Regions from separate parts of the Homo sapiens genome. Here all the other regions are linked to region 2. The links are contacts of gene promoters, found by promoter capture Hi-C in blood cells and fetal thymus (Javierre and others, 2016). All regions are on one chromosome and are shown on one strand. Each heading gives the region's core, a stretch centred on a gene start or on the middle of the fragment in contact. The rest is flanking DNA. Distances are from core to core; before and after follow the strand shown. Region 1 overlaps LINC01801 (long intergenic non-protein coding RNA 1801). Region 2 holds the start of HPN-AS1 (HPN antisense RNA 1). Region 3 has its middle 14 kb from the start of LINC01531.

Evidence for each region. Contacts are between HindIII fragments. The CHiCAGO score rates a contact against its expected background, and 5 or more counts as called.
Region 1: a fragment that was not itself captured here is called in contact with the fragment with the promoter of HPN-AS1 in region 2 in 1 of 17 cell types (non-activated CD4 T cells); the score reaches 5.2 in non-activated CD4 T cells.
Region 3: a contact is called between a fragment that was not itself captured here and the fragment with the promoter of HPN-AS1 in region 2, in 4 of 17 cell types (total B cells, naive CD4 T cells, naive CD8 T cells and 1 more). The highest score is 6.6, in total B cells.

What each region holds. Positions count from the first base shown.
Region 1 is chr19:34,815,817-34,819,040 of GRCh38, forward strand. LINC01801 (long intergenic non-protein coding RNA 1801) reads right to left here. Exons shown (of 6, transcript NR_033982.1): 5 at 2,771-2,950; 6 at 338-1,674. Among named protein-coding and RNA genes, the nearest start is that of LINC01801, 15 kb to the right of the region's middle. The HindIII fragment of the contact is 211 bases long and covers 1,544-1,754 here.
Region 2 is chr19:35,104,813-35,108,296 of GRCh38, forward strand. HPN-AS1 (HPN antisense RNA 1) reads right to left here and starts at 1,492. Exons shown (of 4, transcript NR_024562.1): 1 at 1,417-1,492. LOC124904701 (hepatitis A virus cellular receptor 1-like) reads left to right here. Exons shown (of 3, transcript XR_007067238.1): 2 at 1-2,024. The HindIII fragment of the contact is 15,680 bases long and covers 1-3,484 here.
Region 3 is chr19:35,390,449-35,393,717 of GRCh38, forward strand. No RefSeq gene overlaps it. Among named protein-coding and RNA genes, the nearest start is that of LINC01531, 14 kb to the right of the region's middle. The HindIII fragment of the contact is 543 bases long and covers 1,635-2,177 here.

The DNA.
Region 1 (3,224 bases), core at 399-2,898, 290 kb before region 2:
AGCACCTCTGGTACAGTTGGAGAGGGCAGTACTACTGAAAGCAAAAACTCCTGGGAAACACTTTCCTCCCTGCCTACAGTCAGAGCAGCTGGGGCCTGTCCTGCCAAAGCACACCTCTTAGAACATCACTGAGAAGAAACATGTTCCAGAAGGCACCTCTGTTCCTTCTTGTGTTCATAACACCTGGAAACCATCTGGCCAAAGCACGTCTGTTGTGGTTGGAGGAGCCCGCACATACCAGTGCTTGGGACACTTCTGTCTTGCAGACAGACCACCTGGAATGCAGCTGGCCAGAGCACATCTGCATCCCTCAAAGGGAAGGAGAAAGCAGCACATCTATGCTTGGAGGCCTTTATGTTTCCACCACAAGCAGAGCACCCTGTTGCACCTTTCCAAGCACCTATGTTGCAGTAGCAGGGGACAACACACTACCTGTGACTGCAAGTCTTCTCTTCTTGTGTCTGGTCAGAGCGCTTGGGGCCCATATGGCCTGGGCAAACCTGTTACTGCTGGAGAAGCCTGCACAACAGAGAAGAAACATGTGCCCCAAGATACTTCTGTTCATGACTTCTGTCAAACGCCTTTGGACCACTCAGCTTGAGCACATCTGTTTCTGTTGGAGGGGCTGGTGCCATATCTGTGACTGAAGAAACTACTGTTTATGAATACAATCAGAGCATGTGAGGGCCATAAGTCCAGAGTATAGGCAGTGCAATGCCTGCAATGGGAGGAGATGGCACCATACCTGTAATGGGAGGAGATGGCACCATATATGGGTTTGTTTGGGGGGGACACTTCTGTTCATGAACACAGCCAGAACACCTGGGGTCCACAAGTCCTGAATTCAGGTGTACAATGGGAGGAAACAGCACCCCACCTGTGCCTGCAGAAACTTCTGTCCATGAATAGTCAGAGAGCCTGAGGTCCACAAGTCCAGATTAAAGATGGTGCAATGGCAGGACACAGTCCCACACCTATGCTTACTCGCGAATACAGCCAGAGTGCCTGGGTTCCACAAGTGAGGATTCAGATGGCAAGTAGAGGGTACAGTACCATTCAAGTGTTTGGGTACCCTTCTCACCATCATTCAGAGCAACTGGGACACTGGTGGCTGGAGCACACTTGTTGCAGTCAGATGGGAGAACATGTTGAAGAAGATACTTCCATTCTCACCTTCAATCAGAACACCAGGGGCCTAAGCCAGGGTACCTTCCCTCTTTCATTTTGGAGAAAACAACATCACTGAGAAAATATCTGTGCTTCAGGACCTTTTCCACCTGCTTTTGATCAGGTCAAATGTGCTTCTGTGGTGGGCACGGCAAGCACAGCCTCGTCTTTGGGGCACCCTCGGCACCTGCACAGGGATTCTTTGGGGACAGAAGCATGCAGCATCACCCTATTTGTTTTCTTCTCATGTAAGACTTAGGGTCCTCAGTGACCAAAAGCAAAAGCTTCCTCTAGAAATGGCAGGTGACCACTGTTCCCCATGATTTGATCTTGTTCTGCTGGGAGCAGTTTCTGCTCCTTCTAGTTACGGCAAACAAGCTTCACCTGCCCTTTGTCCTTCTAGCACAAACTGGAAGCCCAAGACCCTGGGGTGTTTGTGAATGTGTCCAAGGACTTGGGTTCAGATGAGCCAAGTCAGAAGTCGACACACTAGCCTAAGATGTTCACCTGTGGAGAGAAGAGAGAGATGGGTGAGTATCAGCCGTGCAACACTACACTCTAGTTTCAGTGTTATCCTGGAAGACCTAAGCTTTGGGGGGGTTTCCTCCTGTCTTGGAACTGTCAGGACACCCACTGCTATCTATGTCTGCCATGTTTCCTCTGCTCATGTGTTTTTGCTCTAACTCAATGATGGAGAAAATACTGACTTGTATAAGCCATGATTGTTGAGCCAGGCTTAACTGTGCAAAGTTTCTGTGGCCCAGGGCCCAGGATCTAGAACATGGAGTTTAAATGTCTTTTTTGCTTGTTTAATTTAGTTGTATGCCAGTAATTCACACACATTCACAATTTTTTTTTTGGCTGCAGGGGGTTGTGGGGGAGAGATGGGGATCTCATCATGTTGCCCAGCCTGGTCTCAAACTTGGCTCAAGTGGTCCTCCCGCCTTGGCCTCCCAAAGAGTTGGGATAACAGGTGTGAGCCACCACGTCCAGCAACATTCACACTTTCACCTATGGATGATTGGCTTGGCAATCAGGCTTTTGGGCCTGGAGGAAAAAAGGAAGAAAGAACTCACGCATGACTGCTCCGTAATTTAAAAAAAATTTAAGTCTGTTAGGATGTAATAGATTACATAGATATTGGTATCATGTTGCTTTGACACATTACAAATGATTATCTTTTAAGGTAAATAGCAGGATAGGTTCTATTTGGAAAAATAACTGGTCTATCTCGAGTCCTAACCACAAAAATATCGTCACAAGATTTATAATTTCACACAGACTTGGCTGACCTTGGAGTTGTACTGTGCTGAAAATACAATCTTTTTAAAGTATTTTACAACCCATGAAGGTATCTTAAGATGGTGGAAAGAAAAATAAAGTACAAGCATTTCCTTCAGCTGCTTACAGATTACAGTTGTCCCTTGAACAATGCGTGGGGGTAAGGGGTGCTGCTTCCCCCACGCAGTCCAAAATGTCTGCATGACTTGTGACTTCCCCAAAACTTAACCACTAGTAGCCTACTGTTGACTGGAGGCCTCACTGATAACATGAACAGTTAACACATTCTGTATGTTATATGTATTATATACAGCATACTTACAATAAGCTAGAGAAAAGAAAATGGATGAGTGGATCATCATAAAGGTTTCATCCTTGTCATTTTCATGTTGAGTAGGCTGAGGAGGAGGAGGAGGATGAAAAGGAGGGGTTGGTCTTGCTGTCTCAGGAGAGGCCGCAGTGGAAGAAAATCCACATGTAAGTGGATCTGTGCAGTTCAGACCTGTGTTGTTCAAGAGTCAATGTATTATATTAAACAGTGCTAGGTCTTGGTGATATAGAATTCAAAGATTTATCTCTTGCAGCCCAGCAATTTACAGTATAGCAGAGAGAGACAGATAGATAAACCAAATATTACACCTGGAAAGATAGTGGTGGCGATACGGGAGTAGGTAAGAAGGACATAAAACTAGGTGTGAGAGAGATGGAAAAAATAAAAAATAATAAAAAAAAGAAGAAGGAAGAAGTGTCCAGGCAGAGAAAGGCTATTTGGGGGT
Region 2 (3,484 bases), core at 242-2,741:
TGGCTTGCTGGGCACCCAAGATGGGCCCTACAGGGCCTGCAGTAAGGACGTGGATCCCCAGGTGCATGTGGAGAACTGCATCCATGACCTCTGTGCCACGGGGGGCTCAAGAGAGACTCTGTGTGCCATACTGGGGAGCTACGCCCAGGAAAGCCAGCAGCGCAGCGTTCCCATGCAGCCCTGGAGACACCTCTTGGCCTGCAGTAAGTGGGTATTCCCAGGGAGGGTCTTTCTCAGCCTGACCTCCCCAGCTGGCCCAATACCACTTCCAGGATGTCCTCCTAGGTCAACACCACCCAAAGTGACCCACTGCATGCCTTTCTGGCTAACTGTTCCCGCGAAGAACCTACCTGCTTAAAACTCTGCAATAACAATAACAGATGACACTGAGTGCTATTGCATCAGTCAGGATGGTCTGGGTTATGCTGAAGTAACGAACTAACCTGAACATGACCCAGCATGACCAAGGTTGTTTCTTCATCACTATCTTCGTCACCTTTGTCATCATCACAGTCACTATCATCATTACCGTCACCATCACCACCACCACCAGCGTCACCATCACCACCACCACCAGCCTCACCACCACCACCACCACCAGCATTACCATCATCACCACCACCACCATCACCACAAGCATTACCATCATCACTACCACCACCATCATTGTTACCACAACCACAACCATCACCACCATCACCATCATCATTGTTACCACAGCCACAGCCATCATCACCACTACCATCACCACCATCATCACCATCACCACCATCACCATCATCATCACCACCACCACCACCATCAACATCATCATCACCATCATAACCATCACCACCAGCATCACCATCACCACCAGCATCAGCATCACCATCACTACTATAATCACCATCACCATTATCACTACCACCACCATCATTGTTACCACAACCACAACTATTGTCATCACCACCACCACCACCCTCACCACTATCATCACTGTCACCATCACCGCTATCATTACCATCACCATCAACACCATCACATCACCAACAACATCACCAGCCCTACCACCATCATCATCATTACTATCACCACGACCACCACCACCACCATTATCACCACCATGATCACGCCACCAGCATTATCACCACCGTGACCACGCCGCCACCGTTAATCACCGCCGTGACCACGCCGCCACCGTTATCACCGCCGTGACCACGCCGCCACCGTTATCACCGCCGTGACCACGCCGCCACCGTTATCACCGCCGTGACCACGCCGCCACCATTATGCTACATCCTGATGATGCCTCCACCTCCCCTCCTTTGCCTTTATGACTTACCCTTGGCCCCCACAACCCTCTCTCCGCTCCCTTGGTCCTATTCTGGTTGGAAATGCTCCAGAATAGTAATGCTTGCTCAATTATTTAACTCCTACCTGTTTTCTTCCAGAGCTGGCCTGTCCTCCCCGCAGCAATTACGAGCTCTGCGGCTCCTCCTGTCCTAGCTCTTGTGCCGAGCCTGCCCTGCCCGACAGCTGCCTGACACCATGCCAGGATGGCTGCCAGTGTGACCCAGGCTTTGTGCTCAGTGGCATGGACTGCGTGCCCCCAATCCAGTGCAGCTGCTCCATGGGGGGCAGGTACCACCACCCGGCTGGGGAGGCCTTCTGGACTGGGGAGCGCTGTGAGCAATTCTGCCACTGCCAGGCCTCCACCCACGCCGTGTGCTGCTCCCCGTCCTCCTGTGGGCCGGGGCAGAGATGTGAGACCCTCAGGGGCATCTTTGGGTGCCACCCACTCTCCCCTGGCATTTATCAAGCAACCATGCACTCACACGTCGCCTCCTTTGACCGGAAGAGTGTTGAGTTTCCAGGCACTTGCGCTTCTGCTTTTACCAAGTCCTGTGGCTCCTCCAGCTCATTGCGCCTTTTCAAGGTGGAAATTGGGAAGGAGAAACAAGTCCAGCAGTCCCATTGTGTTCATTTCAAAGATGTAGGTTCATGGGACCCAGGTTTGTCTGCAGAGAGAGCCCCGACCTGATGAGGTAAGCACTCATTGGCATCTAGAGACTCTTGAACCGATTGAAGCTAAAAGAAATACATTGGCTCAAACTAAGTAAAAATCATGTGATAGCCTAGTGAAAGTGTAGAGATTCTGGGTCCACAGAAGTTCCCTATATACCACTTTGGCTGTTTTGGTTACAGAAAGCCTCATAAAAGGTAACTCAAACCAGTCACAGACTGTGTTTTATGATTTTTAGACTAATTACATAACTGAAAATTCCAGAGGGAGATCAGGCATGGTTTGATCAGGGTGCTAACTCAGTTTTTCAGCATTTCTCTTGGTCTGTGTTTCTCTATAGCATTAGCTTTGTCCTCAGGCTGGCTTTTCTTGTGATGGCAAAATAACTGCCAATTTTCCAGTCATTAAATGTGTATTCCCCATTGTCCAAAACCCGAATCTTTTCTTACCCCAAGTACTCAACAAAAATTCCAATGCTTCACTTTGATTAAACCCCACTGAGCCAATCAGTGCAGCCCAGAGGTTTTCTTAAGCCTATCTAATCCTACTCAGGAGTTGTAGGTGGGAGAGATCCTGCCCCTACCCCCCATCTCTGGCAGCTACTTCTTGCAGGGAGAGAGGGCAAAATGGGAATCCACCCCTGTGTCCCTATGTCCCCCGAAACCAGTATTTCTTCTTAACAATCTTCAAAGAGTGTAAATGCCCTGGTAAACCTCCACTCTGAGACCTGAAACTTTTGTCTAGAACCCACAGGGGTGGATGTGTTTTCTAGGCCCGAGGGCCCCTGCCTACAAGAGTTCCATTGTTGGCTATTGGAAAACACACAGCCACACCCCTCCCACTCCACCCCCTTCCAGGAAGGGAACCAGCTTTCAGAATTAGTCATGCTGTCAGCGTCCCACACAACGAGCCCATTGACTCCAAAGGGCAGCACAGCAGATGGACTGCTATTATCCCAGTGGTACAGATGGGGAAACTGAGGCCCGGGAAGGCAGACTTGCTTGCCTAATGTCGCATAAGGAGAAAGTGGCTGTGCTAGGATTGGAACCCAGGCTGTCAGGTTCTGAGCCCTTCCCTTTCTGTCTGTGGGCCTACTGTGTGCTCCCAAAAAGCTGTGGCCAAATTAAGGAGGTGGCATGTCTGATTCATCTGTGGCGGGGCCTGGGATATATAGTAACTCTCAACAATGGTGTTCATTAGTCCGGGCATGGAGGCTCACGCCTGTAATTCCAGCACTTTGGGAGGCCGAGGCGAGTGGATCACCTGAGGTCAGGAGTTCGAGACCAGCCTGGCCAACATGGAGAAACCCCATCTCTACTAAAAATACAAAAAAATTGCACTTTAGGAGGCTGAGGCGGGCAGATCACCTGAGGTAGGGAGTTCGAGACCAGCCTGGCCAACATGGAGAAACCCCGTCTCTACTAAAAATACAAAATTAGCCAGGCGTGGTAGTGCATGCCTGTAATCCCAGCTACTCGGGAG
Region 3 (3,269 bases), core at 656-3,155, 290 kb after region 2:
TCTGGGCTGGGCATGGTGGCTCACGCTTGTAATCCCTGCACTTTTGGAGGCTGAGGCAGGCAGATCACCTGAGGTCAGGAGTTCGAGAACAGCCTGGCCATTATGGTGAAACCCCATCTCTACGAAAAATACAAAAATTGGCAGGGCGTAGTGGCAGGCACCTGTAATTCCAGCTACTCGTGAGGCTGAGGCAGGAGAATTGCTTGAACCCAGGAGGCAGAGGTTGCAGTGAGCTGAGATCGCACCATTGCACTCCAGCCTGGGCAACAGAGTAAGACTGTCTCAACAACAACAACAAAAATCTGATGAGAATTTATGGTTTGTAGAGCATGACTTCTCTAGACCCCTTAGATAGGAATTTGGGCAAGATTTTAAAAATCAGAGCTTAGTTCTCACTAACAAGCCCCAAGAGTGTCCAAACTGAAACAGTCATGGTGCTTTCCTCCCTCCATCATTTGGGCTTATTCAACCTGCAAATGGAAATTCCTTAGAAAATTCCCAAATTGAGAGGAGCCCTTCCTGCTGTCTGGAACCCAGAAAAGACACTCATCCATCCAGACACAGATATCAAATTTCAAAGTCTGTTCTTCCTAGGCAATCAGCAATACATTTGGGGCTGGCAGCAGCAGAGCCAAAGAGAAAAAGATGGAAACCCACCTCCAGCCAAAAAAAGGTCAGACAGCTGTACAGGGGGCTTCTGAAAGTCCCAGTCTGCAGCAGCTGAGCCACAAGCAATGTGTTCCCAGGTAGGGAACCAAAATCTGTTACTGAAATGCCAGGGCTCCAGTCTAGGTCCCGTTGCTCACTGCACAGAAAGCCAATCACCAAGACAATGAGTACTGCCTGGGAAGAAGGCTTTAATTGAGTGCTTTAGCCAAGGAAAATGGGGATCAGTCTCAAATCCATCTCCCTAGTCAACTAAAATCAGGGGGTTATACAGCAGGGAAGAAATGTAACTACATGTGGGAAAACCAGAGTTAGGGAGAGGTAAGGAAGAGGAGTTGGTCAAAGGAATTAGGGAGGGATAAGGAAATCAGGAGGGATGAGGGGTCTGGCATCTCATTGTCTGGATGCAGTGATCTGGTGAGTTTCAATTCGTTGATTTCCTGTGGCAAGAACTCAGATAAGACAAATGCAGGCTTCAAACTTTAAGACCAGGAGGGGGCCAGGCACAGTGGCTCATGCCTGTAATCCCAGCACTTTGGGAGCCCGAGGTGGGTGGATCACGAGGTCAGGAGATCAAGGCCATCCTGGCTAACACAGTGAAACCCTGTCTCTACTAAAAATACAAAAAATTAGCCGGGTTTGGTGGCATGTGCCTGTAGTCCCAGCTACTCAGGAGACTGAGGCAGGAGAATTGCTTGAACCTGGGAAGCAGAGGTTGTAGTGAGCCAAGATCGCACCACTGCACTCCAGCCTGGGCAACAGAGAAAGACTCCATCTAAAAAAAAAAAAAAAAAAAAAAAAAGAAGGGTGAATTTCTACGTTGATCCAAAAGAAGCATCTATGGGACAATCAGGCCAGTTTCATGAGGAATATAAATTGGATCCTGTCATTGCCCTGAATAAAACTTTTCAATGGCTTTCCATTCTGGCCTCCTCCTCACAGCCTTTGAGGCCCTGCCTCTCTCTCCAAGCTTCTCTGGGGCCATCCCCAGAGAAGTGTCACTGACATCGCTCTTCTGGCCTGGACTTCTCTCTGTCCCTTGAGCAGGCCAAGCTCTGAATGTCTGCATGCACCATGCCTTCCACTCTTTACCTGGCTAGTTCCCCACTTCTTCCAAGTTTCTGTCCAATGTCACGCCTTAGAGAGGCTTTCCCTGATCATCCAATATCAAGTAGCCCCCTTCTGATATTATCTCACACTGCGCTCTCATGGTTTGATGTTTGTATGTGTGTGTTCATTTGTTTAACGTGACTCCTACTAGACTGAGAAGCCCATGACAGCAGTCACCACGTCAGTTTTCTTTGTCACTATATACCCAGTGGGTGCCTAAAACCGTGCCTAGCACAGACTGGGCATTTGATGGTGAATAAATGAATGAATGATTTTTTAAAAATATCTCTAATTTTCTACTATTATAAATAATGCTATGAGAACATCCTTTTACATAAAGGCACGTGCACTGTGCATTTCCTACAAGTCGTACTGTTGAATTAAATGATATGTACATGTAAAGCTTTGATAAATATCGATGAATTACCTTCCCCGGCTGAGTCAACCCTTTCTTCCCCAACAGTCTGTAAGAGACCCCATAACTCTGCTGACAAGAGAAAATATTGTATTTTAATTTTTTGAGATGATATTTAGAATTTAGAAACTTAAGTATTAGTCTGGGATTTCCAGAGAAACAGAACCAATAGAGTGTGTGTATGTGTGTCTGTGGGTGTGTCTGTGTGTCTGTGTCTCTGTGCATGTGTCTGTGTGTGTATGTGTGTCTCTGCGGTGTGTGTGTGTCTGTGTGTGTGTCTGTGTATGTATCTGTGTGTGTGTCTCTGTGCATGTCTGTGTGTGTCTCTGTGTGTGTGTACCTCTGTGTGTCTCTGTATGTTTTTGTATGTGTGTCTCTGTCTGTGTCTCTATGTGTGTCTCTGTGTGCATGTCTGTGTGTGTGTTTCTCTCTGTGTGTGTTTTTGTGTGTGTCTGTATATGTGTCTCCATGTGTGTGTCTGTATGTCTCTGTGTGCGTCTGTGTGCATGTATGTTTGTGGCTCTGTGTGTTAATGTGTGTCTCTGTGTATGTGTTTCTGTGTGCATGTTTGTATGTGTTTCTGTGTGTCTCTGTGTGTTTTTGTGGGTCTGTGTGTCTCTCTGTGTGTGTGTATATCTCTCTGTGTCTGTGTGTGTCTCTGTGTTTCTGTGTGCATGTCTGTGTGTGTGTCCATGTGTGTGTCTGTGTGTTACTGTGTGTCTCCGTGTGTGTGTCTGTGTGTTTCTGTGTGTGTGTTTGTGTGTGTGTGTGTGTGTGTCTGCATGTCTGCATGTGTGTATAAAGAGATTTATTTAAGGAATTGGCTCATGTGATTGTGAATGCTTGATGAGCCCAAAATCTGACGGAGGAAGCTGGCTGACTCGAGGCTCAGGAAGAAGTTGTGGTTGAGTCTAAAGAGAGCCTGCTGGTGAGCCAGGAAGACCCACTGCTGCAGACAAAGTCTGAATCCAGCATGCAGGAGAATTCTCTTTTGCATGTGGAGGTCAGCCTTTTGTGCTGTTCAGGCCTTCAGTGACTGGAGGAGTCCCCCACATTTTGGAGGGCAATCTGCTTTGCT